Regions from separate parts of the Homo sapiens genome. Here all the other regions are linked to region 2. The links are contacts of gene promoters, found by promoter capture Hi-C in blood cells and fetal thymus (Javierre and others, 2016). All regions are on one chromosome and are shown on one strand. Each heading gives the region's core, a stretch centred on a gene start or on the middle of the fragment in contact. The rest is flanking DNA. Distances are from core to core; before and after follow the strand shown.

Region 1 (3,902 bases), core at 1,057-3,556, 260 kb after region 2:
TCTCTATAGCCTTATGGAATTTTAATCAAATAGCTTTTGCTCAGAACTTAAAAAGACATTTGTCCTTGGGGCTAAAATTAGCCATGAAAAAGATTAAAAACAAAGCAAATTTAGAATATAATCAGTACTTTCAAAATGAGCTCAATTTGTGCTTCATCTTCATTTATAACACTTGCTTCTTCTTAGCTTCTAATAGAATAAGAAATAATTGTGCAAAGAATATATTTACATTTCTGAGGTTCCAAAAACAGATGAACCTCACAAGCTCATGCTCTTTTGTGTTTTGCAATGTCACAGGCCGCCTTGGTTGGAATGATTCACATAATGATCACTCTCTGAATAGGAAAAAATTCCAGGTCCTATACATTTTCACCAGATGTCCTATTCCTGCATTTTTTTCAGAGTTATTAAATATAGTACCTTTTTTCCTACTCTGGTAAATGGATCTGTTTGGATACCATCTTTCTTTCAAACACTATTTTCAGACAGGACCTCAGCAGTGCTTAAAGACTCCTGTTATGGTTTGAGTGTGTCACTCAAAAGTTCATGTGTTAGAAATTTAATCCCCAATGCAATAGTTTTGGGAGGTAAGGACTAATAAGAGGTGACTAGGTCATAAGTGTGGAACCTCCACAAATAGATTAATCATATGAGCAGGTTAGTTATCTCAAGAGGAGGCTGTTTATAAAGCAAGTTCAGTTTCTGGTATCTCTCTCTATCATAAGTGCTCTCTTCCACCTTTCACCCTCTGCAATAAGATGAGCCTCACCAGATGCTGGCACCATGTTCTTGGACTACTCATTCTCCAATAACCCTGAGCCAAATAAACTTCTATTATTTATAAGTTACCCAGTCTGTGGTATTGTGTTATAGAAGCAGAAAATGGACTAAGACAACTTCACTACCTGGCCAAGATGAACCTCAAGTATCACAGAAAAAGTAGCAAAGGGATGTCCAAAGCTAATTAAGTGTCAATATACTTGAGAGTTATTTTAAAAATGCAGAAATTATACTTTGTTGGACTAAACCAGATAAGGCACCCAATTGAGAAGTACTTCTGAGACATTTTATCTTTAAGTACTTGTTTTGATGATTTGGAAAGGTCTGGATGGAAATATAACTAATATTTATCAGGGTATTATGTGGGTTATTGCTCTTATCTGAAGTTGAGGTTAATAATTCAACTGATTATCAAATATGTTCCAAGAATTTGGATAAAATATTTACCAATTAATATATACAGATGGATAGATTTCATAACAAGTCCTGACATTTTTCCACATCCCCACTTATACTTTCTCAAATGTACTTAGCTCCTTGCAGCTCCTTGACAGTGCTTGGGGCTAAATGGTTCTTTCTCCATGCAGTGTGCTTTTCCATTCCCCACCTCGCCTGCCTTTCAAACCAGCTTGGAGGAAACCTATTTTACTGAGCTCTCTTCAGACACACAACACTCCCTCCCTCACCAGACACCCACAAAATCTCCTTACTTTGTGCTGATTACTTATTTCCCTAGTTCCAGTCACTTTATAAACTGAAGTTAATTTTTTTGATTATGGGCTTATCACAGGGCCTGGCTTACAGAAAACACTCAGAAAATGCAATAACCACAGGTAGGGAGTAGGGAAGGATTTCATGAATTTCTTCCTCCTCTGAAGGAAGTTTTAAGCTCCTGAAAGCCAGAAAACCAAACAAGAAACAAAATGAAATTCTCAGGAGCACCTTTTTGCTGAAAAGAGAACCCCAAATACCCAAAATTTAGTCAAATATTCATATCCATATCCTTTCAGGACTAGGTAGTTATATGTAATTTTAGGAATACTAAATAGAGAATAGGATCATAATTTCAGCTGGTCACTGACATTTAGCTCTTCTTCCTGCTGACATTTACAAAAGAAAATACAGAGGGTTAAAGTCTATGAAGTCTCTCAGGGTCTACAATACCTCTTTCTTCTAAGAGCACTCTTGTCTATTTATAGTGATATATCCAGGTGCAAATTACAAAGAAATCTTACTGTTTACACTCAGGCTCATGCTGTCCTGCTCTAAAAGAAAATTGGCTGCACATGGACTTGTCCAGTTGTTTTTTCCGGTAACTGCCTGTGTATGTTGTCACGGAAGAATCTGACCATCGTGTTTCATCCTGCCAAGATGCTCCAGCCTTGCGTCTGATCAGATCAAACTCTTGAGAAGTAAGAGGGCTAAAGGGCAGAAGAATTTGTGGAGTCAAGTAGAAGTAGTGTGACATAACTACGAACGGCCTCTCTGGAAAACAACTTGTCAAGTCCTCTGCATAATGAAGAATTAATTTCCTTCTAGTAGCAGGAAGCAATTGACTGGGCTCACCAAACTTTGTGACTCAACAGTTCACAGAGTGCAGAAGCTTAACTGTCTTAGATATAGTTGCCAAGCAACAGATCACAAAATTCCACAAATGCTATCCCCTTGCCTCCCAAGGGAGGTAAATTTTAACTAACAAATTTGTAAGTTATATAACTTTCTGGATTTTGCTCTAAGAAATATGAAATATGCTGCTTCATAATTATGGCAAGAAAGCAGGTGGCAAAATTATTTGTATTTTACTGCTATCATGAATAAAGCAGTAATTCTTAATGATGGTGGTTCAAGAAGTGGAAACAAGAGATGAAAGAACAGTGCCAAGCATTCACTTCTCCTAAAGACCTCCAAGTGTCTGGAAGAGAACATGAACTGCTTGTAATGTCAACAATAGCAGGTGACTCAACAGCTTCTCATATGTCACAGAGTAGTGGTGCTCTGGCTGGCTGCACACTAGAGTCACCCTGGAAGCTGTTAAAATAAGCAGGAGTCCACGCCCCCACCACAGAGATTCTGATTTAGTTCATGTGGAGTAGGGCCCAGGCATCACTATTTGTTTAAAGCTTAATCCTGGAGGATTCTAAAGAGCAGCCAGGGTTAAGAATTAAGGTCATGGACACGGAAAAAACATTTGACAAAATCCAGCATCCCTTTAGGATTAAAACTTGAGGCAAAATTGGCATAGAAGGGACATACCTCAAAATACTAAAAGCCATCTATGTAAAACCCACAGCCAACATTATACTGAATGGGGAAAAGTTGAAAGCATTCCTCCTGAGAACTGGAAAAGGACAAGGATGTCCACTTTCACTACTTCTATTCAACATAGTACTGGAAGTCCTAGCCAGAGCAATCAGACAAGAGAAAGAAATAAAGGACATGCAAATCAGTAAAGAGGACGTCAAACAGTTGCTGCTCACTGATGATATGATCATATACCTAGAAAATCCTAAAGACTCATCCAAAAAGCTTCTAGATCTGATAAATGAATTCAGTAAAGTTTCAGGATACAAAATCAATGTACACAAATCAGTAGCACTGTTATAAACCAACAGCGACCAAGTTGAGAATCAAATCAAGAACTCAACCCCTTTTATAACAGTTACAAAATAAATAAATAAATAAAATACTTAGGAATACAACTTACAAAGGAGATGGAAGATCTCTACAAGGAGGCTGGGCACGGTGGCTCACGCCTGTAATCCCAGCATTTTGGGAGGCTGAGGCAGGCAGATCACGAGGTCAGGAGATTGAGACCATCCTGGCTAACATGGTGAAACCCCATCTCTACTAAAAATACAAAAAATTAGCCTGGCGTGGTGGAGGGTGCCTGTGGTCTCAGCTACTCAGGAGGCTGAGGCAGGAGAATGGCGTGAACCCAGAGGTGGAGCTTGCAGAGATGCCAAGATTGTGCCACTGCACTCCAGTCTGGGTGACAGAGCAAGACACCATCTCAAACAAAAATAAAATATAATAAAATAAAATGAAATAAAATAAAATAAAAATCTCTACAAGGAGGCCAGGCACGGTGGCTCATGCCTGTAATCCCAGAACTTTGGGAGGCT
Region 2 (4,346 bases), core at 820-3,319:
TCAAATTATAATGCAGGGCAACCTAACTACCAGTTTTTTAAAACCAACATTTGAGGAAGAACTGGTTTAAGGATGATGCTCCTTTTTTTTTTTTTTTTTTTTTTTTGAGATGGAGTCTCGCTCTGTCGCCAGGCTGGAGTGCAGTGGCCCGATCTCGGCTCACTGCAACCTCCGCCTCCCAGGTTCAAGCGATTCTCCTGCCTCAGTCTCCCAAGTAGCTGGGACTACAGGAGTGTGCCACTACATCCAGCTAATTTTTGTATTTTTAGTAGAGACGGGATTTCACCATGTTGGCCAGGATGGTCTCGATCTCTTGACCTCGTGATCTGCCCACTTCCGCCTCCCAAAGTGCTGGGATTACAGGGTGCTCCATTTTAAACTTGACTGCTCTCTGTTTTGGTTTTAGATTGAATTCATGCAGGTGTTTCAAACCTCGCTTTCAATAGCATTACTTGTTACTGGGAAGCTAGATCTTTTGGGGGGAGTTGGCAGGGAGGGGTTGAACGTGAGATTTCTCTATCAGTGAAAGACATCTTTTGGGAGATACAGCACTCTTTAAGCTTCACTTATAAAAGTGTGCAATATAAAGCCTTATTATTATTTTTAATAAGGCAAGTCAGAATTTAACCCCCATGGCTCTCTTTAACACCACTGAAGTTGTAAGAATTAACTCAACCTCAAAGAGGCATGAGTTATCCATGTAGGCTTATAGAGTGTCATTTTAATGTTCTATGTCTTTACTGTGCCTCCACTTTCTTTGATGAAAAGGTCTATTTAAAAATTGGTAGGAAAATATTTAACATAATAAGATGATGAGTCAGAGTTTTAAAAAAGCTAAAAAGGGAAGATGTAGTTAAATAATGCACCTTTTTATTTTCTAGCTACATGACTCATGACATATAATGTATTCTGCTAAGTTCAAAGTTTCCTCTTACAAAGAGAGTTTTATGAAACAACTCTTCTTCAGACCATTTTTATTTCAATTATAGTAGCAGGTTTTGGAGTTTAAATCATTAACAACCTCTGAGTGAACTTTTATCCAAATGACTGCAAGTCACAAAGAGAACAGTCCTCTTTCACCAAGTACCTTTTGTGCTCTAGTGAGACCCGTCCTTTTCTATTTTTCTCCTTTATGTCTCTCTTTGAAGAAAGATGTGTGATTTGTAAGGTAATGAAAGTATGTATCAGTTAATGAAAACTGCTATATTGGGCTCATAATGCACACTGGAATTGCTTCAGGGTAAACTTCATATACCTGCAGTATATAGCAGGGGAAAAAGTGAATTTCCGAAGTAAAGATTGCTGTGTGCACTCTAGGAGTATCACGTAGCAGTTAAAGCAACCATCAGGGGTGACCTAATCTTATTTTCCTCTCTTTGTCAAGTAGCTGTAATGTTCATTTAGGAGCATTTTTCAGTTTTAACTCCAGTGGACACTCCAAAACTGGGCACTTATTCTGTCAACTGTCAACCAAGTTATTGATTTCACCATATGTTGTCTTCATTTTTTTTAAATTAGTTTTTTTGGAATGTTTTTGAAGAGTGTGTGGGAGACGATAACCTCCAGATTTAAGGTGATGGGGTAGGGACAAAAGCCTGCAGAATTTCATACAGAACAAAATGTAGCTTAATAAACAAAAGAAAGTGAAGAGAGAAATTTATTTCCTTTTTAAAAGTCAGTAAAATAATGAACTAATCGTTGTTTAAAGAGTGAGAAAAACTTTTTCCCCCTAGATTTGGTGACTAGCGGGATAAATTTGAAGAACTCCATCCCACCCCCGCACGCGCGCCCCCCATTCTTTCCAGACAGAGCGGTTGTAAATCCGAGGCTGAGTCCGCCCTGGGAGCCTTGGGGCACTTTCCTCTTTGCTCTGTGTGTGTGTGTGCGTGCGTGTGTGTGTGTGTAGCTCTCGCTCTTTCCCTCAGTCTGTGCCTCTTGTGTGTGTGTGTGTGTGACAGAGAGAGAGCGAGAGAGAGAGCGCGAGAGGAGAGAGAGCGAGAAAGAGAGAGAGAGAGAGCAAGAGAGCGAGCTGTGAGCTGTGCTGCCGCCGCCGCTGCCCTTTGATCCCGACATTAGTGTTAGGGGCTCGGAGACACAGAGCGCGGCCATAGACACCGCCGCACCGGCACTCATTTATTTATACCTCCCATCACACACGCGAGCATAGGACACACACACACTCACACCTATTAGATCCGTTTCCATTGAAGAATATTACGCTCGGGGACAAGCCAGGTGCACGACCAAAAATTTAAAAAAAAAAAAAAAAGGAAAAAAGAAAGGAAAGAAAAGAAGAAAACCCCTCTTCTGGCTCCAGGAAACAAGCTTCAACCCATTGCACACACCGGAGAAGGGGTTTCCCCCTGCCCGCCCGCCCGCCCCCCAACTACCTCCCCGCTCCTGCCAGTGTCTGCCTCTCTGCCCCCACGGGGGTTTATTTGATCTCACATTAACCAAGGAGGAGAATGTGAGAAAAGGGGGAAAATGCCCAGGAGGAAGCAGGAGCAGCCCAAGCGCCTTCCCTCACGTAAGTCATCCCTTCTCCACCTCCTCTCGTGCCATTTTCTCGCCCTCCCTCTCCTCTTTCCCCTCCGCAGCCTCCTCCGTTGTTTTCTGCATTAGTTTAGGGTTACAGAGGTGAAACTGACAAAGACACAGCCCGGGTTACTCCTCGTTTAGGTCTATGCTGAGGCAGCCATGTTGGTGATGATCAGCCCCGTGCCCTTTCTATTCTCTCTCTCTTTTTCTTTCTTTCTCTCACCCCCCCCCTTTTTTTCCTTGAGATCGGGCTTTTTTTTCCCTTTCCCTCCCCTTCCCCCTCCTCACTCTGGGTTGCTGGGGGGAGGGGGCAAGAGAAGGGAGGAGGGGAGTAGTGTGGATGCCGGGGGTTTTATCGGGGGTTTGGTGGGGGGAGGTGGGAGAGGTTGGAATCTTAAAAAAAAAAAAATTCCTTGTGGATTCCGGCGCCTGAGGGTGCGGGGGTCGGGGCGCGCGGAGGGCTGGGGGCCGTGACATGGCGTTTGGGGGTGTCGGGGAGAGGGCGCGCAGCAGCCGCCGGGTACAGGATCCAGGGAGAGGTCCGTCCCTGGCTAAAGGTTGCGCCGGGGTTGGTCGGCCCCCGAGCCGCCGGCGGCAGCGGCGGCGGCGGCTGGAGCAGGAGGAGGCGGAGGTGGAGGAGGCGGCGGCGGAGGAGGGGAGTCGGGGGCGGGCGAGGCGGGAGCGGCTGGGGAGGGTGTAGGGGCACCGCACACAAACACACGGGTACACACGCGCCGCCGGGCGGCTGCTCCCGCGGCGCCGAGGCGAGGGGGCGCGCCGGGGCGCGGGGCGGCCGGGCGGGGGGCGAGGCCGGGCAGCGGCGGGCGGATGTGGGGTGCGGGAGCTGCGCCGAGGCGAAGGCAGGAGGCAGGGCGGCTCGCGGCGCGCGAGGTCCCTGCAGAGCGGAGGAGAGGGAGGAGCAGGGCTCCTGGCCGCAATAAAATGCGGGGTCAGTCGGAGCAGACGGAGCCGGGCGAGACTCGGGCTCTCAGACCCCCTCCTTGGCGAGCCTGAGCAGAGTCCAGGACTAAAGTGCATCACAGCCCTCCCCGGCGGCAGCCACACACGCCAACTGGAGACACACACCCGCCGGCACGGCCCGGTCCCCTTCCCCTCCTCCACCCGCGCCCCCGGTCCCTCTCCGCCCTCCCTCCGGCTTTTCTTTGCGCGACTCTTAACTTTTCCCCCACTCCCTCTCCAGCTCCCCCCAACCCCCCAGTCTTTCTCCGCTTTGAGTGTTTCGAGATGCTGCTAAAGCTAAAAGTGAAGGAGAAAGAAGCAACTAAAAATATCCCCCGGGGCCGCCCGGCTCCTTGAATGCAGGGAAGAGGGGGCAGGGGAGAAGGCGTGGGGCGGGGTGACGGGGAGGAGGGGACGCGGGAGGCGCCGGAGGGAGGGGTCGGGGGAGACGGAGGGTCAATTTCTCTTCTCTCCCCCCACACTACTCCCCTCTCCCGGCGGTTTGGCGCTGCTCGGAGCCCGATCCTGCAAAACCCGGGCTGGGGGCGGGAGTGGAGCCGGAGCGCCCGCCCGCCCGGGTGTCAGGCCGACGTGGTCGGTCACCTGAAGTTCACGGAGGGTGGGGGAAGGGTTAAGGTTATGGTGTCTCGGGCTCGGGCTGTGTGTGAGCTTGTGCTTTTCCGCTGCAGACAGGCAGGGCGATCGATCTCCCCCTCGCGAAATAACCGCGGCGGTGCCTGCCCAGGGGACCGGGAGGGGGGCGCGGGCTGCTCGGGCCAGGCGCCCCCGCGCCTCCGTGTCACCCGGGCCGCAGCCGAAGTGGCGAGCAAGGGCACTTGCAAGCAGTC
Region 3 (4,106 bases), core at 532-3,031, 270 kb before region 2:
TTGAGATGGCATGCATTAAAGTCTGGCACGTAATTATAACCTGCGTTGACACCATCCCACACTCACTCCTGGTTTAAGAGTCTGCCTTGGAAAAGTTTGCAAATGAAGGAGGAACCTGTTGAGCTCACTATTCTAGTCCTGTTTCCTGCTCCTTCACTCCAGCAGACAAGTGGACATTTTCTTCATTTTCAAAGATCTTGGAGATGAAGATAATGGCTTTTGTAACTCATGAACAGTCTTTCCTATCCAAATGTTTTTCCTACCTTGGTAATGACTTCCTGCTGAGATTGACTGGTGTTTTTACATAGAAATCTGCTATTCCAGTATCATCATTGTGATTAGCATTTTAATGTTTAGATAGATTTTTTAAAACTATCTGAAGATTTCTGGAGTGCTGGGATAATCTATGTAAGAGAAAAATACAATTCTCTTTAAACTCTACATGAAAGTGGGAAGTCAATGGTCATTCATGTACGTTTAGCAGGTCTGCTGACTTTTGCATCATCCTCCATGCTACTGTGCACTTTCTGCCATTTAAAAAAAAAAAGTTGAGTGCCTTTTTTTTTTCTTTTGAGACAAGGTCTCACTCTGTCATCCAGGCTGGAGTGCAATGGTGCAATCACAGCTCACTGCAGCCTCAACTCCCAGGCTCAGGTGATCCTCCAGCCTCAGCCTCCTGAGTAGCTGGGAATATAGGCATGTGCCACCACTCCTGGCTAATTTCTGTATTTTTTGTAGAGATAGAGTTTCACCATATTGCTTAGGCTAGTCTCAAACTCCTGTTTGGGCTCAAGCAATCCTCCTGCTTCTGCCTCCCGAAATCTTGGGATTACAGGTGTGAGCCACTGTGCCCAGCCTAGTGCTTTTATTCTACCCAATAATCCTCTCCTTCATTATCCCTGTTAAAGAACAGTACAGTCAAACAGGATTTCTAAGTTAATTAATATTTGAATTCTTACTATTTGTAAAGCAACTTGCAAGAGAGTCTGCTGATAAAGTATCGGCAGGATCTTCTCCCTAGGAACTGACATTTTACTTGGGGTGAGGTAGCAAGGTAAAGAAGAAAGAGCTCTGAAGTCAGACAGCAAACTAGTTACATGACCTTGGAAAGTTAATGCTGGTGAGCCTCAGTTTTACCATCTGCAAAATGGGGAGACTATTAGATTTCTCACAAAGGTGTTGTAAGGATTAGATGCTCTCTAGCAGTGATGCAGAGCAGTAAACAAGCTATGATCAGAAGAGAGATAAAAGCCAGGTTACCAGAGTCTGGGATGCCAGAATATTTCAAGTAGAATCAGGAAAATATGGTTGATTTTAGAGGTTAGGTGGAGTTTAGACAGATGAGATGGGTAAAAGGATATTCAAAGCAGGAGAGAGAGTTTGAACAAAGGTGTGAACACTAGCTGTGTTTGTAGTAATTATCCAGACATAAAATGAGGTGCATTTGACGCAGGATAGTGGGGACTGAGATGTTGAGAGAGTAAATGGAAGTAAGACTTGGAGACCTTTTGTATGGAGGCAAAGTGGGGATCAAAAATTGGCATTTAGGGAGTCTGGACAAGTACTATAATTTATGTCCAAAAGAGGGGAGTTGGTGGCATTCAATTTTAGTTACACTGGAAATGTACTCTGAGCATTTATTCATTCCTTCAGCCAACCTTTATTAAATGCCTACTAAGTGCAGGTCATGGGCTCTGGGCAGGGGATATAAAGATGAATAACACATAGTCTTCACTCCTCCAGGGCTGGTAAAGCAGAGCAATGCATCAGCAGATAATTGCAAAACAACGAGATTCATGATTAGAGAAATATGATCATGTATCGTTATAGCAGGACAGAAAAAGCATTACCTGGAGTTGATTAAGAGGCTCTTTTTCCCTTTTCAAAGCCTAAACATTCATATCTTGTGACTGCATGCAAAAATGAACCTCAAAGATTGGCATTGAATAATTCTGGGGACTTCTATTATACGTATATGAATGTTTTATCGTATCTTTTTAGGATCCTACACCATGTATACCCTTTATCCTTGTGTAGGCACTTGATCCCATACACCGCCCTGGATTGCAACTGATCAGCTTTAAGTGTGCCATCTTTCCTACTGACCTAGCTCTAAATCCCTGTAGGGTAGGAATTGTCTTAAAATTGCCGAGCTTGGATGCGTAGCACAGCACTATGAACATCGTAAGTTATCTGTGAAATAATGTAGCATAGACCTACGCTAAAGAAGACAAAGGAACATGGATCTCTCTGTTCAGAACTCTATGTGTTCCACTTATTTTAATGCATCCTTTTTCCAACCTTTCCAAGGATAATAGGTCCCATGTATTGAACTCTTACCATGTGCCAGGCACACAGCTAACATTGAACATGTATGAACTCACTTAATCCTCACAATGATCCTATAAAATATGTTCTAATCCCATTTCCACTTTACAGATGAGAAAGCTAAGGCACAGAAAGATTAAAGCAACTTGTTTGAAGTCACATTGCCCATGATTGGAGGCGCTAAGTTTCAAACCCCTGCAGAGTAGCTCTGGAGCCTGTGCCCCTAAATTCTAAGCTGTTACAATGGCCATTGTATAGTCACGAACATGGAAACATACAGAAAAAGTGATGTGGGATGGTTCCAAAAAGCTAATTAAGGGTGGGAGACAAGACTTTGGTTTCCTGCTTCTCTGATACGGACCAGGGTTTGGAGGGCCACTCTGAGTAAGTAAGAAATCTAGCCGGAACTTTCTTTCTCTGCAGACCTCACATCCTAACCCAGCAAACCTACCAGAAGCGGGCAAACTGATTTTGGGACCCACTACTTCAAAGCAAGAAGGTAAAAGCTATTTCAGGGTAACTAGACTTCAGGAGCCCTCAATATTGAACAATGTCAAATGTTTGTCCTTCCTTCCATCCATGGCGGGTTTTCTCAAATTAAAGAACATTTAAAAATTGTAAGGATATATTTTCTTTTCTTCCTTCTCTCTCTTTTTAAAAGTAAAGAATGCAGCATTATGGTTGAGTATCTAAATGTCATCCTTTATATTCTCATCGTCCACACTGCCCTTTGATCGCCCATCACAGAAGCAGTCACAACAAACAGGGTTTACTCTCCTTTAAAGAGGCAATCCAAACCTCTTATCCACTCTGCAGCAAGAAGCAACTAATTGTCTGGTTAGCCCCCAATCTCCCTTGGCAATGGGGAAATACTAAAATCTTTGAATGAGAAAGTCCTTCATCAAATTTTTTAACTTTTAATTTTAAAACATTTTTTCAAGGAACCTGCAAATGCCAAACTCCAAAAGTGTTTCTCTGGTCCACGTTCATGGGCCATTTCTGCAGGACCAATTCCTTCTTTTGCTCTAAGACTCAGCTCCAGAGCTGGATCCACATTTCCTTCAAACCAGCTGCAAGTCTGCCATCACAGTCCTTTCTTTTACTAAACAGACATCTAAAACCGACAGGCCTCTTTCACCACCTCCTGCAAAACAGCAATAGAGTCAACTTCTCAGGCAGCACCCCAAAGCTGTGAAACGTTACGCTGGCACTTACTGCTAGGATCTGAGCCAGTTCTCTTGGGAGCAAACTGCCTGGTGACACAGAATCCCAGGAGCCCGCTTAGCACACCGCCAGTATGTGAGTGGCCCCAGCTTAATAAGTTTGAGGCACCTTAGGAAATTTAATCATTTGTTTCCAACCATCCAGCAAGCAGTCTAGAAAAGCTGGAAGTAGAAATACCAGATTTCCCAATTCCCCTTCAGTGCTTAACAATTTCTTCCCATAAAAACCCTTCAGTAACGTGAGCAAAATCCACATGGCAATAGATCCCTTAAGAGTTTAACAGAAGGTCTACCGTAGGCCAAGCCAATGAGACTTCTTTAACACCATCTTTTCACTAAACCCTATGTTGACTGTTTTCCCTATCTCACAAGATAGGGGAGCAGCAATGATTAGCATCAGTTTTACTCCTCCCCAAAACACCTGCACTTTCCCCCACAAAGCCCAATTCACATGTCTCTGATGGAGGAATCTATAGGTAAGCAGAAAATACTACTTGAAATAGTTTAAGTTTATACAAAATTCTGGTATGATAGTCCTTAGTATATTTTGCTTTT
Region 4 (3,922 bases), core at 45-2,544, 290 kb before region 2:
TTCCTACTCATTCCCCTCTGGGGCTTCTGTGAAGCTTAGAGGACCTTCACGATCACTTATGTAGTTTGAGTATAGGCCCATGGACTCCAGCTGCCCTGGCCAAAAAAGAGTCTAGTCAGAATGCTGCAGCAAAAAATTATCTGATACGTGGTAGGAATTGTAGCCAGTGACTACCATGACAACTCGTGTGGCCTTCAAGTGACTGGGCCAGGGAAGTGAGGTGGGAAGTTTGCTTCAAGAGAAGTTGTCAGCCGGGTGCAGTGGCTCACGCCTGTAATCCCAGCACTTTGGGAGGCCCAGGTGGACGGATCACAAGGTTAAGAGATAGAGACCATCTTGACCAACATGATGAAAATCCGTCTCTACTAAAAATACAAAAATTAGCTAGACATGGTGGTGCGTGCCTGTAGTCCCAGCTACTCAGGAGGCTGAGGCAAGAGAATTGCTTGAACACAGGAGGCAGAGGTTGCAGTGAGCTGAGATTGCACCACTGCACTCCAGCCTGGTGACAGAGCAAGACTCCATCTCAGAAAAAAAAAAAAAAAAAAGGAAGAAGAGGAGAATTTGTCATAGAAAGAAAGTGACTTCGGTGGCTCACGCCTGTAATCCCAGCACTTTGGGAGGCCGAGGCGGGCGGATCACAAGGTCAGGAGATCGAGACCATCTTGGCTAACACGGTGAAACCCCGTCTCTACTAAAAATACAAAAAATTAGCCGGGCGCGGTGGCGGGCGCCTGTAGTCCCAGCTACTCGGGAGGCTGAGGCAGGAGAATGGCATGAACCTGGGAGGCGGAGCTTGCAGTGAGCCGAGATTGTGCCACTGCAATCCGGCCTGGGCTAAAGAGCGGGACTCCGTCTCAAAAAAAAAAAAAAAAAAGAAAAGAAAGTGACTTTTTTTCATGATCACAGAATTTCTCTAAATGGGCTACACGTAAAGACAGTGTTGCAGCTTCAAGATAATATTAATGACAATGGTATGTCAGTTTGGTTATGGATAGCTAAATATTGTGTATGCATTCAATCTTTACATCAACCAAAAGAGCTGAATGATTTTGTGATGTCCTTTTCTCTGATGAGGAAGATGAGGCTCAGAGACCTGGCTAACCCTTCTGCATCACTTTACTGTTTTGTATAAGCTGGAAGTCCAACTGGAGAAGAGAAAAATACCGGACCCTGAAATCTGGAGACTCCTCTCACCTCCCTCATCACCCAGGGATGAATGGCATCTCTTCAAGTCTCACACAATCCCCCCATGGCAGATCAGCAGTCTAAGCAGAAGGGCAAGTGAATTAAAGATGGCTGCAAATCCTCTGTCACTTCTCCCATCAAAAAGTGAAATCTGTTGCCCTTCCTTTTGAATAATGAGGGTTGGTCCTGTGACTCACTATGACAACTTCCAAGGGCTAGGTCTTAAGAGATATGCAGCCTTTGGTTTTGTGTGCTTGGCACACTTCCTCTTGGAACTCAGCCACCATATGGCATAAGAAGACGCAAAGAACAGAACCATATTGCTTCCCACATTCTTCAGCAGACCCATTTGGGCCCTTAGCTGGCAGCCAACACCAACTGCAAGCCATGTGAGGGAGTCAACTAGGCTGCCCCATCCCATTCATTAACACTGAGAGCAGAAGAACTGCCCAGCTGAGCCCAGGCAACCCCAGAATCATGAAAGATGATAAATGGTGGTGTTGGTGGTGATTTTATTTTCAACTACTAAGCCTAGAGGTAATTTGTTCACATCAATAGACAAGCAAAACAGTCTGTTTACATAGGAAAATTCTCTCTTAGACAGAAAAGATCTAAAAAAGTTTGCATACATGGTGCATCTGGCTCTGATGTGATGTGGCCAGATGAAAGCTCTCCACTAATGGGGTCCCTTGTTTGCTTCTTGGGGAGAACGTCTTTTAGAGGGCTAGACATACAGAAGGGATATCTGTGGCCTTATTAGACTACAGTACTTTTGTTTCTTTCCACAGTATTCCTAGAACACTTTCATTTGTGAATGCACAAATTACCTAGGTCTCCATGCATCTAATGGCTGAAGCCAGGGAACAGAGCTACCTAGCCCAGAATCCAGGAGGAGAGAGTCTTGGAATTGATGACCAATGAGCTAAAGCGAGGTGTGGAAAAGGCAGGAGCTGTCTCTTTCCTGAACACTCAATTTTTAAAAATTGTTAAATTGAGGTATAAGGAAAGCCTCATTCTCCTTGGAAAGCTACTGAACTTATTCCTCATTAAATTTTTGTGAGAGTTAAATGTGAAGATATACGCAAACTACTTAGCACAGTTCCCGTATGAATTAGGTGTTCAATAAACAAATATCCTTTCCGAATTTGTAGTGATTTTTGTTTCTGCATTAAAATGATGACTCTATAATAGGTTTCACTCTGAAAAGGCAGCTAATTCCTATGTGCTATATTAGGTGAGCATATTTAAGAGTTATATTCAGATCTGTTGTTTTGACCTCAGATAGTATCTGTGGAGCCACTGTTAAATCAAAGCAATCTTCATAAGGTTATGAGATCAGGTAGATGACCTTCATCCATGAAGCTTTCTTCCTGATATTCCCTGAAAAGACAAGTAAAGACTGTTCTTCAAACTATGCTGGTATAATAATGTTTTTCAGCCTGACCTTTGGCAAAAGGCACTATGTCTGCTAGCTGTTGGGATACACGAATGTTTCCATCAAGTGTAAATGGATGGGAGGTCTCAGATCCATTTACACCTGATGAAAAGGCTTTCTTACCCCACTCTGGTGTTTACGGCCTTGTGTTGCATGTATATGTTTTCCTGAAGATGTGTTCAATCAAGCTCTCAAAAACTTTCCTGACTTTGGATCAATTTCCATGGCGGATTTGCCAGGCTGCTGAGTTGCCCAGAAGACCAAATACCCTTGCATTCACCTAGTCATCCAAATCAGAACTCTAGCAAGTTGTTGAATTCAGTTTTGAAAAGAAAACTTCTTTGGGGGTGGTTTAGGAAGGCAAAGTGAGAGCTGCAGTTCTTTTTCTTGCAGGAGACACAACCCAACATTACTTTTTTTCCCCAAAGAGTTAGAAGAGATGAGACACTAAGGAGGGACAGTATTTTTATTTCTATGGCTTCCTTACCACAACAGAGGAAGCTTAGTGGCCACAGGGGTCTAGTTAATGAGCGGGTTATACAATATTCATTGTGTTGAGTTTAAGTCTTCAAACAGAACGTCTAATTGCAAAAAGAAAGAAGGAAGCCCAATTACAGATGTTAAGACAACAAAGCTCAGGAATAACTCCCTCTGTTGATGAAAGTGTCCTCTCCCGGGTTCCTCCACTAACTGCACATTGACAGAGGCACAATGAGTCCCTGTCTTCATCAGTTATTCTCATTATCTCTGCTCTGTCTGGGACACTCTCCAGGGCCCAAGGAGGGCCACTGAGAGGTCTGGGGTGACAGTCTTCTCAGAGGACTGTTTTCTTGCTACCCACAGAAGGAGTGATCCAGTTGTACTCTGCTTGAACCAAAACAAAACTGTTCTCCCCAATCTTCCTGACGTGCACAGTCTCACCACTGTTGCTCCTGGCAACAGCATCCGAAGCGGGCTCACTGAAAGACACTTCTGTCTGCTGGTGGCAATACTGGGTGTGCAGGTAGCGAAGGCCAGCGGCCAGGGCCATGCCCAGGGTGGCTGACAGGCAAAGCAGAATTCCCAGCTGAGGAGTTCTGAGCTGGATACCCAGAGGGGCCTGGGCTCCCTCTAGCCCAATGTCAGGCCGTGGGTTGGTCTGCCGAGGGTATCCCACTCCACCCTCTCCATTTCCCTTCCCTGCTCTGAGCTCCTTGTGCTTTGACTGAGGTAAGAAGCTGGCAGAGGCCCTGGATGCCTCTGACTGGTCACCAGCAGCAGGTAGCCCAGAAGTGCCAGAGGTCTGGAGGACAGGGATTG
Region 5 (3,910 bases), core at 834-3,333, 320 kb before region 2:
GGATGGGTGGGAGGACCACAAGGTGCCCATCATGGCTGGAGCGCCCAGGTCAAAGAGCAGAGAAGTAGTGAGATTTAGAGTGAAAAAGAGCAAAAGCTTGGGGCAAGTCATGAAGTCCTCTTATGCTCTTATGCCACACTTAGGGATCTCTCCTGTGTGATACACTTCTGCGTGATGTGACACGATCAGATTTGCACTTTAGAATGTTCACTCTGGTCACAGAGTAGAAAATGGCTTGGACAGGACAACTCTGAAGGCAGAGAGACTGGTTCGAGACTGTGGAAGAGGTGCTCTTAAACGAAGGTGAGGGGGATGGAGGTGTGAGTGGTCACCCATGTGCCCAGTAAGTTATGGAAATGCAGGGTTAGGTCAAATCACGCTTCCCAGGATTCCTAGCCCTTCTACAGAGTACTTGATCAGTTACATGAGTTCTAATTGAATAAATCAGTGAGCAAGTGGATTAGTAAGCAAGTGAGTGATGAGGACAAAAGAGTGGTGCGTTACATAGTCTTCTGGAATAAGAGATGCAGCTGATTTTCTCTGATTTGATGTGAAGAGCAAATGTTGCCGAATTCTTGGCCAGCTGACAGAAATCACAGTGTGGTAAGTGCAGTGGCTTTTAGCAGGTTCTCAACCTCTCTCAACAATTGAGATGACCCCCAAGTTTCCAGTTGTTGTCCAGATAGTGCTGCTAACAGCAAAGATGCCTTAGAGAAGAGATATTGAGCTCACCACTTCCAAATGATCGCCACCATAGCATGGAAACTCGAACATGGGAAGTGTTAACTCTCACTCTGCTTATCCCAACTTCTCTTTCTATTCTGACCTTGGAGAAACTGAAGATGTACTAAGTAGATGCTTGGGATTGCAGGGAGGAGAAGTGGGGGAGAGGTTGAAAGAAAGCAAGGAAAGAAAAGGTTGAGATAAATAGATTTAGAAGAAACTCTAATAATTGAAAAGGAAAGTAGATAATTGAATGATTGAAAAGGAAAATTTTAAGTCCATAGAGCAGTGGGGGAAATGCTTTTGGTGGAAGTTAGTCAGAAAAAGAATCCATTTACAATATGGGCCTTCTAGCATCTTTCAGACATGCATTGTCTGAAATAAAATAAAGTTTCCTAAAACAAGTAACATATGACTCGAGTCGCTGGAGTGGGCCTCCCCCTGGCGAGTGATTGACTTGTGAATCCACCATGTGAGAGTGGCATAGAGAGGGTACATGAAAGAGACTTGGACCATGACCTCTGGGAGCTATTTTTTTCTCTGATATATTATTTTCAAACATATTTTTAACATTATTCACTTGTGGGGGTAGAGATAGGAAATTTGATTAATGACTAGCAAGAAGATATTGCAGGCACATAAAGTGGTAGGGGGAAATTCCTATTTAATTTGACAAATTTTGGCCGCAGCTGCAAGTGATCGTGGATCCCTTCTCTTTTTCAAGCAAAGGGAATGACTGTTATACAAGGCAGAGTAAGAAGAGGGCAACCAGGGTCCGTCAGGAAAGCAGAAATCACCCTTTGAATACAGGGAATTGATTAAATAGTGTTGGAAAGCTGAAAAGGGAAATGGCAACAGTGAGGGAACAAGACAAATAAATGCAGAAAGTAGCTGGAGCTGGGGGGGCAAAGGGAAGAAGTTAGAATTTTCAGAACCTAGAAGCTTGGAGAGAGGCAGCAGAGCAGGTTCTCAGACATCTGAGAAGGGGCACTGCCCCGCTGGTGCTGTGGCCCTCAGGGGCATGATGAGTTATAGGCTGGAGCCAAGTACCCCTGCACTGGTGAAGGGGCCTGGCAGGAAGCCCAGACTAGAAAGAAATTCCTCCTCCTCCTCCAGCCTTCCTCTGGGGCCCCTTGCAAGGAGCAGCTGACCAGAAGGACAGGTGTTTGCAGAGTCCCAGCTTCCTTGCAAGAGCAGTGGAGAGAAGGGTGTGTTTGAAGGAGAGAGATAAGAGCTGAAGAACCAGCAATGGCCGGAAGAGAACTTCCTAAAACTTGACATTAGGGTCCAAAGAAGGGAGAGATCATTTGTCCACCTTCAGCTTCTTGAGGATCAAAGCTATGTCTTTGAATCCATGGCTTCCTTGCCACTATTGGGGTAGCCCTAGCAGTTGCTTTTGACATATTTGAAATCACAGGGACGTCCTGGTGTGGCGAGCACGGGAGTTTGACACCATACTGCCCCTGGAAGTGCTTCTGGGAGGTCTTCAAGGAGAATGAGTTCCAAAAGGACAGCTGGACTTGAAAGTGTTTTGCATGCCAGGCCCTCTCCCTTTTCACAGCAGCTGCAGTGCCCATGGCATCTGGAACTGACCTTACCTGATATGGAGAACTGGAAATTCAGGTTGCCTGAGTCGCAGTTTAGAGCCTACCACTAAGAAATTTTCCTGACCACTAGGTGCTTCAGTTTCCTCATCAATAGAACTTTTTGTTTACTTATTGTAGCAGCAGCATCTGGGACTATCTCTATGGCTTCCCTTCTGAGATCACTTAAGCTTGCTGAAGACTGAATGACACAGAGCCCAGATTCTTAGCTAAGAATGGACAACATAGGTGGTTTAGCCCAGCAGCCTCAGTCCTCAAATCTGGGGTTAGCAAATCCTGCTCTGGTCATTTTTAGGGACAAAATATCATGATACTTCTATCACTTGCTCCCTTTAGCCTCACATTTACTCCACTCCCATCCCCCAATGTCTTAGCATCACCTCTTTGGGCCAAGGAATGAATAACGTTTCTTGGAAACAGGAGGAGTTGTGTTCAGATTTTATTTTCTCATTGTAACAGCTTTTCAAAACTATAGTATCAGATGCTGCTTTTCAGCAGTAGATTTTTAAAGCTTTTTTTTAAAAAAAGGCCCTTCATTTTTTATGTTAGTATAAAGACAGAAACTGCAAAAAATCTAAGCATGTACTTTAGAAGCTCTCAGAGACTATGTTTGGGAAGAGTTAAGTGTTTTCAGTTTATGGCAATGATATGTGAGGCTGTGAAAAAGAAAGTAACCATGAAACACATTTTGTGCATAAAGGTTTGAAATTTATTAGAAGGTAAAAATAATTGAAAAAGCTAAGCCTTCCTTGTTGTGTTCTAATAAAAAGTTATTTATGTGCCATCATTGTACATGGTTAGGAGCTTAGGTCCTTTTCAGAGGCTGTTATCAGAGAAACAAGAAAGCTAGGCTATTAAAGCTATTCAGTTGAAGAAGCTGATACATACATAGCACTTCTGAAGACTGTGGCTGCATTAAAACAATTAGTAATAATAGTTAGACTGCTAGTGTCTGAATTGTGTTAGTTATAGAAGCTCAAAAATTATGCTCTATAGGCAGCAGCTTATAAAATATACACACCCAGCTCTTGGTATAATAGAATAGTAGACTCATGAAGTAGTATTCATTTGAGTTCCATGAAGACATTCACTGTGGAGTTTAAACATTCAGCCCTGATTTTCGAGACAGGGTCTCACTCTGTCACCTAGGCTGGAGTGCAGTGATGCAATCTCAGCTCACTGCAACCTCCACCTCCCAGGTTCAAGCGATTCTTCTGCCTCAGCCTCCTGAGTAGCTGAGACTACAGGTGTGCACCACCATGCCTGGCTAATTTTTGTATTCATCTTCCATAGACCAATCTGTATGACCCTTACCTAATGATCGTAAAGCACTTTAAGATCCTTGGCTGAAAGGGAACATACAAATCCTTTAAGGTCCAGTTGACTAAAATGCCTTCCTACTTATAGCAGTGTATACCATACATGATCTTACCGTATTTTTTTACTCTCAAAAGCAAGCTTTGGGACTTTGAACTGGTGCCAAGCAGGCCTCCCTAAAGACCAACAGACTATCTCACTACTAAGCAAGAAGAGATCCATTTTTAGCATCTCCCTCACCAATATTTTTCAGCCTTCTTAAAGCA

The links. Contacts are between HindIII fragments. The CHiCAGO score rates a contact against its expected background, and 5 or more counts as called.
Region 1: the fragment with the promoter of C4orf51 here is called in contact with the fragment with the promoter of ZNF827 in region 2 in 6 of 17 cell types (endothelial precursors, M0 macrophages, erythroblasts and 3 more); the score reaches 6.3 in endothelial precursors.
Region 3: a fragment that was not itself captured here is called in contact with the fragment with the promoter of ZNF827 in region 2 in 1 of 17 cell types (total B cells); the score reaches 5.1 in total B cells.
Region 4: a contact is called between a fragment that was not itself captured here and the fragment with the promoter of ZNF827 in region 2, in 1 of 17 cell types (naive B cells). The highest score is 5.8, in naive B cells.
Region 5: a fragment that was not itself captured here is called in contact with the fragment with the promoter of ZNF827 in region 2 in 1 of 17 cell types (total B cells); the score reaches 6.3 in total B cells.

What each region holds. Positions count from the first base shown.
Region 1 is chr4:145,678,550-145,682,451 of GRCh38, reverse strand. It overlaps C4orf51 (chromosome 4 open reading frame 51), which reads right to left and starts at 2,306. Exons shown (of 6, transcript NM_001080531.3): 1 at 2,016-2,306. The coding sequence starts at 2,248. The HindIII fragment of the contact is 4,880 bases long and covers 1-2,385 here.
Region 2 is chr4:145,936,546-145,940,891 of GRCh38, reverse strand. It overlaps ZNF827 (zinc finger protein 827), which reads left to right and starts at 2,069. Exons shown (of 15, transcript NM_001306215.2): 1 at 2,069-2,527. The coding sequence starts at 2,485. RefSeq lists an enhancer at 2,693-2,752 and silencers at 3,127-3,196, 3,317-3,726, 3,827-4,346. The HindIII fragment of the contact is 1,765 bases long and covers 563-2,327 here.
Region 3 is chr4:146,207,077-146,211,182 of GRCh38, reverse strand. No RefSeq gene overlaps it. Among named protein-coding and RNA genes, the nearest start is that of REELD1, 5.4 kb to the left of the region's middle. The HindIII fragment of the contact is 8,496 bases long and covers 1-4,106 here.
Region 4 is chr4:146,230,029-146,233,950 of GRCh38, reverse strand. It overlaps REELD1 (reeler domain containing 1), which reads right to left. Exons shown (of 8, transcript NM_001354631.1): 8 at 1,684-3,922. The coding sequence ends at 3,438. Among named protein-coding and RNA genes, the nearest start is that of REELD1, 17 kb to the right of the region's middle. The HindIII fragment of the contact is 2,516 bases long and covers 37-2,552 here.
Region 5 is chr4:146,259,140-146,263,049 of GRCh38, reverse strand. All of the region lies in intron 10 of SLC10A7 (solute carrier family 10 member 7), which reads left to right. Among named protein-coding and RNA genes, the nearest start is that of REELD1, 47 kb to the right of the region's middle. The HindIII fragment of the contact is 832 bases long and covers 1,668-2,499 here.